Linked DNA regions of Homo sapiens: all the other regions are linked to region 3. The links are contacts of gene promoters, found by promoter capture Hi-C in blood cells and fetal thymus (Javierre and others, 2016). All regions are on one chromosome and are shown on one strand. The core of a region is centred on a gene start or on the middle of the fragment in contact, and the rest is flanking DNA. Distances in the headings are between cores, read along the strand shown. Region 1 overlaps NCOA6 (nuclear receptor coactivator 6). Region 2 has its middle 60 kb from the start of ASIP. Region 3 holds the start of DYNLRB1 (dynein light chain roadblock-type 1).

Region 1 (3,582 bases), core at 218-2,717, 260 kb after region 3:
AATAGTGCCTGGTACGTGGCAGATGCTCATTAGCTATTTATTAAATATAATGGTCATCTTATAACCTTATAAAGAATTATAAGCATTTTTCTATATGACAAATTACTTCCTGGAAAACCTCACATTTATCAAATCTCATACTGACAATAACAGGGTTAGGGCAAACTGAAAACCTGTGAGACTTTGTAACCAGAGCTCTAATAAAAACAATAACTGGTGGAGGCAAAATGCCAGAAAAAAATGCAGCAGAAATGCCTGGTTAAAGGTGCTGAGATAATGCACATGTAGTGGAGTTCTGAGCCAGCGGGGCTGCCATTATGGTGGGCACAGGAAGAAATGCAACCTGTCATGAACTGAGAGCCACACAAGGCTGGGGGATGCACGTCAGGAAGGCATACGAATATACACTCTCATTCTTAATTTTAATAGAGCTGAAAAGACTCCCACACATGCAACAGCTGAGTGAAAAGCTTTTTCTTGTTGATAATTATAATTCTATTTCTACTATTCCAGCTCCTCTTACCTAAGAAAAAAAATCACATATTAATAAACAGAATTTCCACACTATACTGCTATCATTCCCCTATTTACCAACTGCATATATGCTAATTTGTGTCAAAGAGAACACTACCGGCTCCCAAACTTGCCAATTAGGGGTCCACAAACTACGTCCTGTGGGCCAAATGCAGCCCACTGCATGTTTATTTAAATAAAGTGTTACTGAAATCCTGCCATGTTTACTTGTTTACATATCGCCTATGGCTGTTTTTGCCCTACAAGATGGAACTGAGTACTTGTTGAGTTGAGATCTTATGGCCTGCAAAGCCAAAAATATTTATTCTTGGCCCTTTACAGAAAAAGTTAGCAGACTACTCTTTAGATCACCATGAATTTACAGAGGGGGCACAAAATGTCCTCAAAAAAGATGTTTCCCCAATTCCCTGGCCAAAACTTAAAAAAGGAAGGGTACAGGAAGTATTTGTCAATGGAGAACGGACTGTTGGGAGAACCTGTCCCTCAAGCCTTGCAGCAGACACGATAGTGGCAACATTGCTTCATTCCTTCTTTTTTGTTGTTGTTGTTTTGAGACAAAATTTTGCTCTTGTCGCCCAGGCTGGAGTGCAGTGGCGTGATCTCGGCTCACCGCAACCTCCACCCAGGAAAATTTTGCTCGACACCCAGGCTGGAGTGCAGTGGCATGATCTCGGCTCACCGCAACCTCCACCTCCTGGGTTCAAGCAATTCTCCTGCCTTAGCCTCCCGAGTAGCTGGGACTATAGGCACGCCCCACCATGCTCGGCTAATTTTTATATTTTTAGTAGAGACGGGGTTTCACCATGTTGGCCAGGCTGGTCTCAAACTCCTCCCCTCAAGTGATCCACCCACCTTGGCCTCCCAAAGTGTTGGGATTACAGGTGTGACCCACCGTGGCTGGCCAACATTCTTCTTACAACTTACAAAATCAACAGCCCAGTTCCACAAAAGCAATAGCTGCTGCCATCACTTTCACTCCTGCTGAATTCCCAGGAGCATGGGAACAGAGATCATCTGGGACACACATGTAGCCTAAAAGTTAAAGAACTCTTTCTGTATTGTGATAATCATTGTCATATGTGAATTTCATAATTTCTTAAAATATGTTATCTATTTGCTTCCTTGCTAGTACTCATGTTTAAATTTATGGCTATAATGTTAAGGGAGAACCAGCATTATATTGTTTTAGGAAGTAGGTCTGCTTAAGAAATAAAACTGGTACTTCTTTCTCCAGTGAAAAACACTATCAATTAAGGTTTTGAAGCCTTTAAATAGGTAACAGAGACCAAAAAACATGTGGGGTTTTAAAGAAACCACTTATGTATTCCTTAAAGTATAAACAGCCCACATATTGTTATTTTATCCAATAGTTGTTCGACTTCCACTTTTCCTAATAGTTCATCCTACAGATTGCTGTGAATTAATTGTACTTTTCTGGATCCTTTTAGATAGTTCCACATTTTTCAAATTAAAGTGGTATTGCTTAAGCCACTATTCTCTCATTTATCAAATGGTGAAAATTATCCCATTTCTCAATCTACATATAACCCTTTCTAAATAATTTGTTTGTTGGTATTGCCCCTTTGAGGGCACAGCAACCTACAATGCTAGACTGCATAAAATGTGTCTCACTCCTATAAACAAAATGACCTCGACTGCTCAGGTTTCATGGAGCAATTAGGTTCTACGTAAGCACAGGGCCAGGAGGACCTGGACTAAAGTGGAAGGGAAAGCTGGAATTGCTGGTTGTCACCTGGCTGTATCAACACAGGAGGGGAAGAGAGGGTTCTAGTTCACTGAGCTTCCAAAGAGCTCCCCCACACATGGTAGGTACTTACATCTCTCACAGGTTTGTCTTCCTTACTAAAGTCATAAGCTCTTCCGAGTTTATAACAATAAGGACAATATTTATCATTGTATTCCAAATGCTAAAGCTTATAGTCTATGGGGATAAAACAATAATCAAATAATTGCTCTATGAAAGTGTGAGATAAATGATCTGAGGGAGAGAAACAAACTTTTGTGAGAGCACATAGCAAAGGACTCTGACTTGCCAAAGGAGTTCAGAAAATACATCCTCAAGATTTAAGCTGATACTTGAAGGCTGAGCAGGCATGAACTAGGGGAAGGGGGTTGGTAGGGAATAGTATTTCATTTAGAGAAGACATCAATGCAAAGGACCTGTGGCAGGAGGAAGAGAAAGCTGAGAAGCTGGAACACAGGGGGCAAGGGAGGAAAGTTACACAAGATAAGGCTGGATGAGGAAGGTAGAGGTGAGACCATGCAAAGCCTGAGGTCATGGTAAGGAGTTTGGTCTTCATTCTTTGAATAATACCAAGAGATAGCAGGATTTTAATCTAGGGGTGTAGGGTTATAGGGGTGTAGGTGTGTGTGTGTGTGTGTGTGTGTCTGTGCGTGCGTGCACGTGCTCATCAAATTCTCATTTTGAAAAAGATCATTCTGGTAAAAATACTGAAAATGAACACTGCGGGCCGGCGTGATGGCCTGTAATCCCAGCACTTTGGGAGGCCGAGAGGGTGGATCACCTGAGGTCAGAAGTTTGAGACCAGCCTGGCCAAGACGGTGAAACCCCATCTCTACTAAAAATACAAAAATTAGCTGGGCATGGTAGTACATGCCTGTAATACCAGCTACTCAGGAGGCTGAGGCAGGAGAATCACTTGAACCTGGGAGGTGGAGGTTGCAGTGAGCTGAGATCATGCCACTACACTCCATCCTGGGACTCTGTCTCAAAAAAAAAAAAAAAAAAAAGAAAAAAAAAAGAAAAGAAAATGAATGCTGCTACAAAAGGAAAGGACTGTTGAAGGCTTCATAATCTGTTAGACGAATAAAGAAAATACTAAAGTTTATTTGGTGGAAGGAAGGAAGCAAATTAAATTATATGTTAAGCTGGGTACAGTGGTATAGGTGTAGTCCCAGCTACTCAGGAGGCTGAGATGGGAGGATCATCTGAGGCCAAGAGTTTGAGTCCAGCCTGGGCAACACAGAAAGACACTGTCTCTAAAAATAACAACAATAACAAAGAAA
Region 2 (4,136 bases), core at 1,176-3,675, 330 kb before region 3:
CAAACAGACTCCATCTCAAAAAAAAAAAAAAAAAAAAAAAAAAAAAAAAGGTACAAAAGAAAACAGAAGGAAATTTATTAGGGGAATGCTGCTTTATAGCAGCAACAGGCAGTAGTGAGAGAGCTGCTATCTGCCAAGAGGCAGAAATGTGACAGGGTTTTTTGTTTTGTTTTTTTTTTTGAGACGGAGTCACCCAGGGTCTGTCGCCCAGGCTGGAGTGCAGTGGCATGATCTCGGCTCACTGCAACCTCCACCTCCTGGGTTCAAGCGACTCTTATGCCTCAGCCTCCTGAGTAGCTGGGACTACAGGCACTCGCCACCATACCTGGCTGATTTTTGTATTTTTAGTAGAGACGGGGTTTCACCATATTGGCCAGGCTGGTCTCTAACTCCTGACCTCATGATCTGCCCGCCTCTGCCTCCCAAAGTGCTGGGATTACAGGTGTGAGCCACCACGCCCGGCAAGAGGGTTTTATAGGACAGTGTTGGAGAGATCTATGTACAAGTGAGCTTGTGCTGTATACTAAGAATACGTGGCAGTAATTTTTCACTGCCAGGCCTTTCCTCTTCAGGTGCCCAAGGGAAACACTCTGCTGTTCTTAGCCATCTTGCAACCAGCATGCCTTTCATTTCTGGAGTTGCAAGATAGTGGCTGCGGTTTTTCCACACCCTTTAAAGGAATTACAAACCAGGTTAAGTCCCTATTCCACCAGCCTGGTTCCTTCCTGGTTCCATTAACTTATTGATTTATTACGGCCCCACAGTGAGTTCAAAATATTTTGCTATACTAAGAGTTATGGATAGTCACAAAAGCTTGAGAAAAAGGAGAAAGGATGTTTGTTGGAGTTACCCGTAAAGGCATCATGAAGAAGCTATAGTCAGACACTTAAAGGATGGGTAGGACTTGAAAAGGCGGAATGTAGGGAAGAGGCTGATGAGGAATCCACATATGCAAAGTTCTGAAAGCAAGAATGAGCAGACCACTTGGGAGATGGGAGGACATCTGGACTGGAACTAGACTAAATGTTGAAAACAATGAAAGATTCGGCAGAGACAAATGATGAAATGTTCTGCCAGAGTGAAGCATTTGGGTTTGATCAGATAGATCAGGGGTTGGTAAACTACATCAGCAAGCAGGCCAAATCTGGCCCACCCCGTTTTTTCGTAAATAAAGTATTACTGGACAGTCGTGCCCACTTGTTTACAAACCTTTGTGGCTGCTTTTGGACAAGTAGAGTTGAGTAGCTGTCACAGAGACCTTATAACTCACAAAGCCTTTATAGAAAATTTGATCAAACAACAAGACAATATAAAATCCTCTAATAAGGAAGAGAACTGAAGTTTTATTGGAGACCATTTTTCAAAATCTGATATATTTACAACTTCCTAAAGCTCCAAAGCAGGTTTAGAAAACTTCAATCGAAATATTTTCTGGGCCGTGCGCGGTGGCTCACATCTGTAATCCCAGCACTCTAGGAGGCCGAGGCGGGCGGATCAGAAGGTCAGGAGTTCAAGACCAGCCTGGCCAACATGGTGAAATCCCATCTCTACTACAAATACAAAAATTTGCTGGGTATGGTGACACATGCCTGTAATCCGCGCTACCTGGGAGGCTGACGCAGGAGAATCATTTGAATCCAGGAGGCAGAGGTTGCAGTGAGCCAAGACTGCGCCACTGCATTCCAGCCTGGCGATGGAGCGAGACTCTGTCTCAAAAAAAAAAAAAAAAGAAATACTTTCCTAGTTTGCAGAGACTGTGCCTTAAGGCATAATTTAGGTTGAAATGAATCTCATTGTTGCGCTTCAGCAGTTTTGCATCATTATTTGTTTTTCTCTGGTGTGCCTTTGTTTCCTAATATTTCACAAACCAGTTGGGCCAATTATCTTCCACACAATTAAAACAGTTTGTGCCATCCAGCTGTTTCTCCTTAATCTTGGGCACTTTACATGATGCTGTTTGCCCTCCTCACTAAAGCTCTCTCATTCTATGGTGGGGGCACTTTCAAATTAACATTCCCGGCAAACTTTTTGCAGGGTTTAAATTTTTCTGAGCAATATCTTCTCCCCTATATTGACAGTCCATGAGCACCCTCAGGTTCAATAAAGTGTTCCTTATACTCATTTTTTATTTCACACATGAACACTCAGCAGAAGAAACAGGTAAGATTATTATACCTAGGAGAGTTGTACCTAGGGGAAAAAATGTAACATTTAAGATGATTGTCACATTTAAGAGGGTGTCTAGATTCTTGGCATCTTGAATAAAGAATTGGACAAAATGCACAAACAAAGCAAGGAAGGAATGAAGGGATTTATTGAAAATGAAAGTACACACTCCACAGTGTGGGAGCAGGTACGAGCGTAGGGGCTCAAGGGCCCCATTACAGAATTTTGGGGAGTTTAAATACCCTCTAGAGGATTCTATTGGTTACTTCAGGTATGCCCTATGCAAATAGAGAGGATGAAGTAAAGATACAAAGCTATTTACTTGGCCTATGCCCTATGGAGAGGATATTTCCTGTCCTAGCTGAAGTGGGAATTGGCCTTATGTTCCCTGCCTCTAGACCCTATTTTCCTGCCTCAATGATTACAAAATGTTCCCCCTAAAAAAAACTTTCATTTATTGACATTTGTGCCCCCAGATTCCCACACCTTCATAATCAATTAATGTTTATTGAGATCTTTCTTTTTTCTTTTTTACTTTTTTTTTCCCCCAAGACGGAATCTTGCTCTGTCACCCAGGCTGGAGTACAGTGGTATGATCTCAGCTCACTGCAACCTCTGCCTCCCAGGTTCAAGCGATTCTCCTGCCTCAGCCTGCTGAGTAGCTGGGATTAAAGGCGTGCACCACCATGCCCAGCTAATTTTTGTAGAAACGGGGTTTCACCACGTTGGCCAGGATGATCTTAAACTGACCTCAAGTGATCTGCCCACCTCGGCCTCCCAAAGTGCTGGGATTACAGGCATGAGCCACCGTGCCTGGCCTAAAAAATTATTCATGGAACCAGGACTCCTTAGAGAAATGGTTAACTCAATGAACTGATTGAACATCCCAAATCCAAAAGCCAAAATGCTCCAGTGAGCTTTTCCTTTGAGCTTCATGTCAGCACTTACAAAGCATCAGCTTTTGGAACATTTCAGATTTTCAGATTAGTGATTCTCAACTTGTATCAATCACTTGATCTTCCTCGTCCTTTGGTAAACAAGCCAAAGGTCCCATATAGGATGTCTCTGAATTTCGCCGAAAAACTGGGTTGCCAATGTTGATGGAAATGTGAAAAGTGAATGGGACTTTCCAACATATAGAAGTATATAATAGCCTGATATATTGGAAAGAGCACTGGGAAAGACATCAAAAGACACCCAACTATACTTCACAGTTCTGCCACTAACTAATCACTTAATTGCTTTAGGCTAAATTTGTTTTGGTTTTTTAAAAATATGTAAAATAAAAGTTATATACTGTATTATCTCCAAGAACTTTTTTTTTTTTTTTTAAACAAAGTCTGTCTCTGTCACCCAGGCTGGAGTGCAGTGGCATGATCATGGCTCACTGCAGCTTTGACTTACTGGGCTCAAGCAATTCTCCCCACCTCAGCCTCCAGACTAGCTGGGACCACAAGCATGTGCCACCACGTCTGGCTAATTTATTTATTAATTGTAGAGGCAGGTCTCATTATGTTGCCCAGGCTGGTCTCAAAGTCATGGCCTCAAGTAATTCTCCCACTTTGGCCTCCCAAAGTGCTCAAATTATAGGTGTGAGCCACTGAGCCCTACCAGAGCTCTTCTAATAATAAAGTTCTGTGAAGTAGAAATGAAGATAAAATTGGAAATGTTTTGCCTAGCCAAAGTCCCTATGCCCAACATGGTCATATGTGCTCAAGGATAGACAATAAAAAGTATTTAGAGTGCTTATCTATCTTATTTATCCATAGAGAGTGAACAAAGCCTCCCTGGCTTAGGAATATCTCCTCTGGTGTCTGGAGAGCTCCTGGAGCTATGAAGGAAATGGCACCAGGAGCTCCAGAAGACTCAGGAAAGCTTTCAAATCCAATGGGATGACTATACAGGTCAGTAAAAGAAAAAGTACAGAGGAAAGAAAATCCTTTTGTGTGTATCACATTCTGTGCTAATTA
Region 3 (4,033 bases), core at 981-3,480:
CAGGCGCACACCACCACCCCCGGCTAATTTTTTGTGTATTTTTAGTAGAGGGGCTTTCACTATGTTGGCCAGACTGGTCTCGAACTCCTGACCTCGTGATCCGCCCACCTTGGCCTCCCAAAGTGCTGAGATTACAGGTGTGAGCCACTGCGCCGGGCCAAAACTCTAAGCCTGCCACTCCGGGACATTCTTGGTCCTATTCCAGCTCCTCCTTCATTCTCATTTTGGCTCCTGTCACATGAACTATTGGCCATTCTCTTTTTTGCTTCTGGGATTGTAATCTGTTAAAATCCTTTCACTCCTCTCAGTCTGGTTCTCCATGGGCAAGACAGTGGTGATTCTTCCAGTGCTTATCTTCCAGGATGTTTTAGGGTCCAGTCTCTGCAGCACTTCTTCCCCTTGCTAAATGCTTTCCTAATGTTTCCAGCATTCAATAGAAATTCCTTTGGATCCAGTCCTTTTAAAAATTTATTTTGAAATAATTTTACATTTACAGAGCTGTTGCAAAAATGGTTAAGAGTTCCTGCACAGTCTTCACCCAGCTTTCTCCAATGTTATGATCCCATATAACCATGCTAGAATTACCAAAACTAATAAATTAACACTGGTAAAAATAACACTAAACTACAGCCCTTACTCAGATTTCACCAATTTTCCCACCCATGTTATTTTTCTTTCTCCTTACTCCTCTAATCTGTGACAGTTCCGCATTCATTCCTTGCTTTCATGACTTTGAGATTTTGGGGGGCGGGGGCGGGGTACAGGTATCTTGTAGAACATCCCTCACACTGGATTTAGTGAAATTTTCTCATGGTTTAAGGCTGGGAGTTTTTGTGGAAAATGACTCGGAGGTGATGTGCCCTTAACGCATTTTTATCGGGGCACACGGCATCAATATCTCCCCTTGCCAGTAATACTAACTTTGATCTGGTTACGGTGGTGTCTGCTAGGTTTCTTCGCAGTAAAGTCAATCCTCTTAACATGCAGACACTCCTGGAAGGAGAACCAAATCCTTCCTCACTGAAGAGCAGCTACTGTGGAATGAAACTTTGGAGTTAGATCATCGTTGAATCCAGCAAGCTACAGTGCCTGGGAGAAACAGCATTTATAAAGTATCGAGGTTACCGATACTTCCCTGAAGCTACCGGAGATAACGTTATGTGCGTGTTCAGCACAGTAATGTGGCACAGGGTTCACTAAACGGCAGCATGTTTTAACAGAAGTTATTTACTCCTAGAGGACCCAGAAACGTTTGCGGCCTGCCGGAACAGGACAACATAGGGCTCTGGGAAGAGTCCCCCTTTCAGAGGTGAGAACAAGACAGAACACACAGATGTGAAGTGCCTTCTGCTAGGTAACGCGAGGCGGGGCTGAGCTCGGATTCTAAAGACTCCCAGGCCAGCCCTAACCAATTCATCTCCGAGCTTGCACGGCATCTTACCCGGAGACTCGAGGTACCTGACTCCAGCCCCACCCCAGGCCTGCCCGATCCCGAAGCGCATTTTGGCCCTGGGCCTCTCTCTGGCTCAGTCTGGGCGCAAAGCGGGTCTCAGCAACCGTCCCACTTGCCTTCATACCCTCCCACCACGCTCCACTCAGGGACTCCAGAACCAGCTTAGACCTCCATTGAGAGCTGAAAGCCTCTTCCGATACCGAGAACCAGCACTGAAAGCCTCTTCCGATACCGAGAACCAGCATGGTTTTTGTTTTGTTTTGTTTTAGTCAGGGTCTCTTGCTCTGTCGCCCAGGCTGGGGTGCAGTGGCGCAATCTCGGCTCACTGCAGCCTCGAACTCCTGGTCAGGCGATCCTCCTACCTCAGCCTCTGGAGTAACTGGAACTACACGAGCGCGCCACCACGCCCGGCTAATTTTGTTTATTTTTTAGTAGAGAAGGGGTCTCTCCATGTTGCCCAGGCTGGTCTCGAACTCTTGGGCTCAAGCAATCCTTCCGACTCGGCCTCCCAAAGTGCTGGAATTACAGGCGTAAGCCACCGCGTCCAGCCAGAACCAGCATCTTTTCTGCACGGCTGGAGTTGGGAATTTTCCACAGCTTAGCGCACTGCTCCTTAGCTTTTCGCTTTGCCACAGTGGAAAGCAGATTTTCCAAGAATCCTGGCGGAGCCAAGATCGGCTCGCCCGCCCCCGCCTCACGCTGGCTCCTGATAGGCAGCTAGAGCTGTCCGTTTTGACAGAAACCTTTGCGCAGGCGCAGAAAGGCACAGGACTCGCTAAGTGTTCGCTACGCGGGGCTACCGGATCGGTCGGAAATGGTGAGCGTGCGCCGGGGTCTTGTGGCTGGCGGCCGCCCACCACCCCACGCCAGGCCTTCAGTCTTCCGAGGATGAGGGGATCTCAGAGCTCCGGACAGGGAATCGGTGGTGGCTGGGCGTGGCCGGGCCCGGGCCCCAGCCGACTTGAGGGTGGAACCCGGCGGCGGAGGCCTCTAAAGCCTGACCGAGGCGGGGCCGCCGGATCCCGCTGCCCCTTGACCGGAAGCGGGAGCCCAGCCTCGGCCAGGAAGAGATGATGGGCGAGGGGTGGGCGGCGGCCCTGCAGCCTAGAGTTTTGGGGCCTTGGTGCGCGATGGCAACCCTGGCAACGTTTCCCGGGAGCTCAGTTTGTGGCAGGCTCTGCCAAGCACTTTATGTATCTTGTATTTCCTCCGCCTCCTCCCAGCTCTGTGAGGTAGATACAATCTTTAGTCCCATTTTGTTATACATATCTGTTATTCAGCGCCCCGAGAAGCCAAGTGCTTTGCCCCAGGAAATAGTGGAGATGGATTTGAACCCTAGAAGCTTGACGGCCGCCACTCTGTCGGCGTGGTTCTTTCTAGCCGCTGGGACTGGGTGCCAGAGTCAGGAACGGGCGGGGTCTGCTCTTGGGGATCCCAAAGCTTGCTTTCTACCTTGCTTGCTGCAGCTGTGGGTTCTCAACGCCGTTACAGGTTTTGTGTTTGTAATCCTCACAGCTTGGGCAAAATTTGAAAAAGTTTCAAATTTTAAGCCATGTGAATATATTACTTTTTCAAAAATCTTATTTAGAAATCTAGAGCTTGTAATAAAAAAATTGAAAAAAGAAACCGTGTCATCACCTAGAGGCAACCACTTACAGTAGTCATATGACTTCTAGTCTTTTTTGCTTGTTTTTGGTTTATACAGTTTAGCCCCTATTGAATGTGCAATTGTGGGTTCTGTGTTTTTCATTATTACACCACAATATCTCCACATCATTACAAACATGTAATAATGCTTCAAATATGTATAACTTCATTTTTCACATCACTTCTTAAGCTGTAAAAAAAATTGATATATAATAGTTGTACACATTTATGTTGTAGATATACATGTAATATTTTGATACATGCATATGATGTGTAATGATCAAATCAGGCTATATTTATTATAGAATATCCATCACCTTAAACATTCATTATTTCTTTTTTTTTTTTTTTTTTTGAGATGGAGTGTGTCTCTGTCGCTCAGGCTGGAGTGCAGTGGCACCATCTTAGTTCACTGCCACCTCCGCCTCCCAGGTTCAAGTGATTCTCCCGCCTCAGCCTCCCGAGTAGCTGGGACTACAGGCGCCCACCACCACGCCCAGCTAATTTTTTGTATTTTTAGTAGAGACGGGGTTTCACCGTGTTAGTCCGCCTCAACACGGTGGTCTCGATCTCCTGACCTCGTGATCTGCTCGCCTCAGCCTCCCAAAGTGCTGGGATTACAGGCGTGAGCCACCACGCCTGGCCCACATTTTCTTTATCCATTTACCTATTGATGGACGCTAATTCCATAATTTAGCTATTATGAATAGTGCTGCAATATGAACATGAGGATGTAGGGATGCCTTTGATGTACTAATTTCCGTTCCTTTGAATAAATACCCAGTAGTGGTATTGCTGATTTATGGTAGGTTTTTTTTTTCGTTTTTGTTGTTGTTTTTGTTTTGTTTTGTTTTTTCGATGCCTTTGTCGAAAATCAGTTGGCCGTAAATAAGTGGATTTATTTCTGGGTCCTCTATTCTATTCCATTGGTCT

Evidence for each region. The method cuts DNA at HindIII sites, captures the fragments that hold promoters and counts their contacts. A CHiCAGO score of 5 or more calls a contact.
Region 1: a fragment that was not itself captured here is called in contact with the fragment with the promoter of DYNLRB1 in region 3 in 1 of 17 cell types (megakaryocytes); the score reaches 5.0 in megakaryocytes.
Region 2: a contact is called between a fragment that was not itself captured here and the fragment with the promoter of DYNLRB1 in region 3, in 1 of 17 cell types (M2 macrophages). The highest score is 5.4, in M2 macrophages.

What each region holds. Positions count from the first base shown.
Region 1 is chr20:34,772,387-34,775,968 of GRCh38, forward strand. All of the region lies in intron 4 of NCOA6 (nuclear receptor coactivator 6), which reads right to left. Among named protein-coding and RNA genes, the nearest start is that of NCOA6, 51 kb to the right of the region's middle. The HindIII fragment of the contact is 1,998 bases long and covers 469-2,466 here.
Region 2 is chr20:34,179,209-34,183,344 of GRCh38, forward strand. No RefSeq gene overlaps it. Among named protein-coding and RNA genes, the nearest start is that of ASIP, 60 kb to the right of the region's middle. The HindIII fragment of the contact is 3,228 bases long and covers 812-4,039 here.
Region 3 is chr20:34,514,192-34,518,224 of GRCh38, forward strand. DYNLRB1 (dynein light chain roadblock-type 1) reads left to right here and starts at 2,231. Exons shown (of 4, transcript NM_014183.4): 1 at 2,231-2,270. The coding sequence starts at 2,268. RefSeq lists enhancers at 1,253-1,312, 1,423-1,662, 2,051-2,916, 2,583-2,762 and a silencer at 2,123-2,232. The HindIII fragment of the contact is 8,760 bases long and covers 1-2,793 here.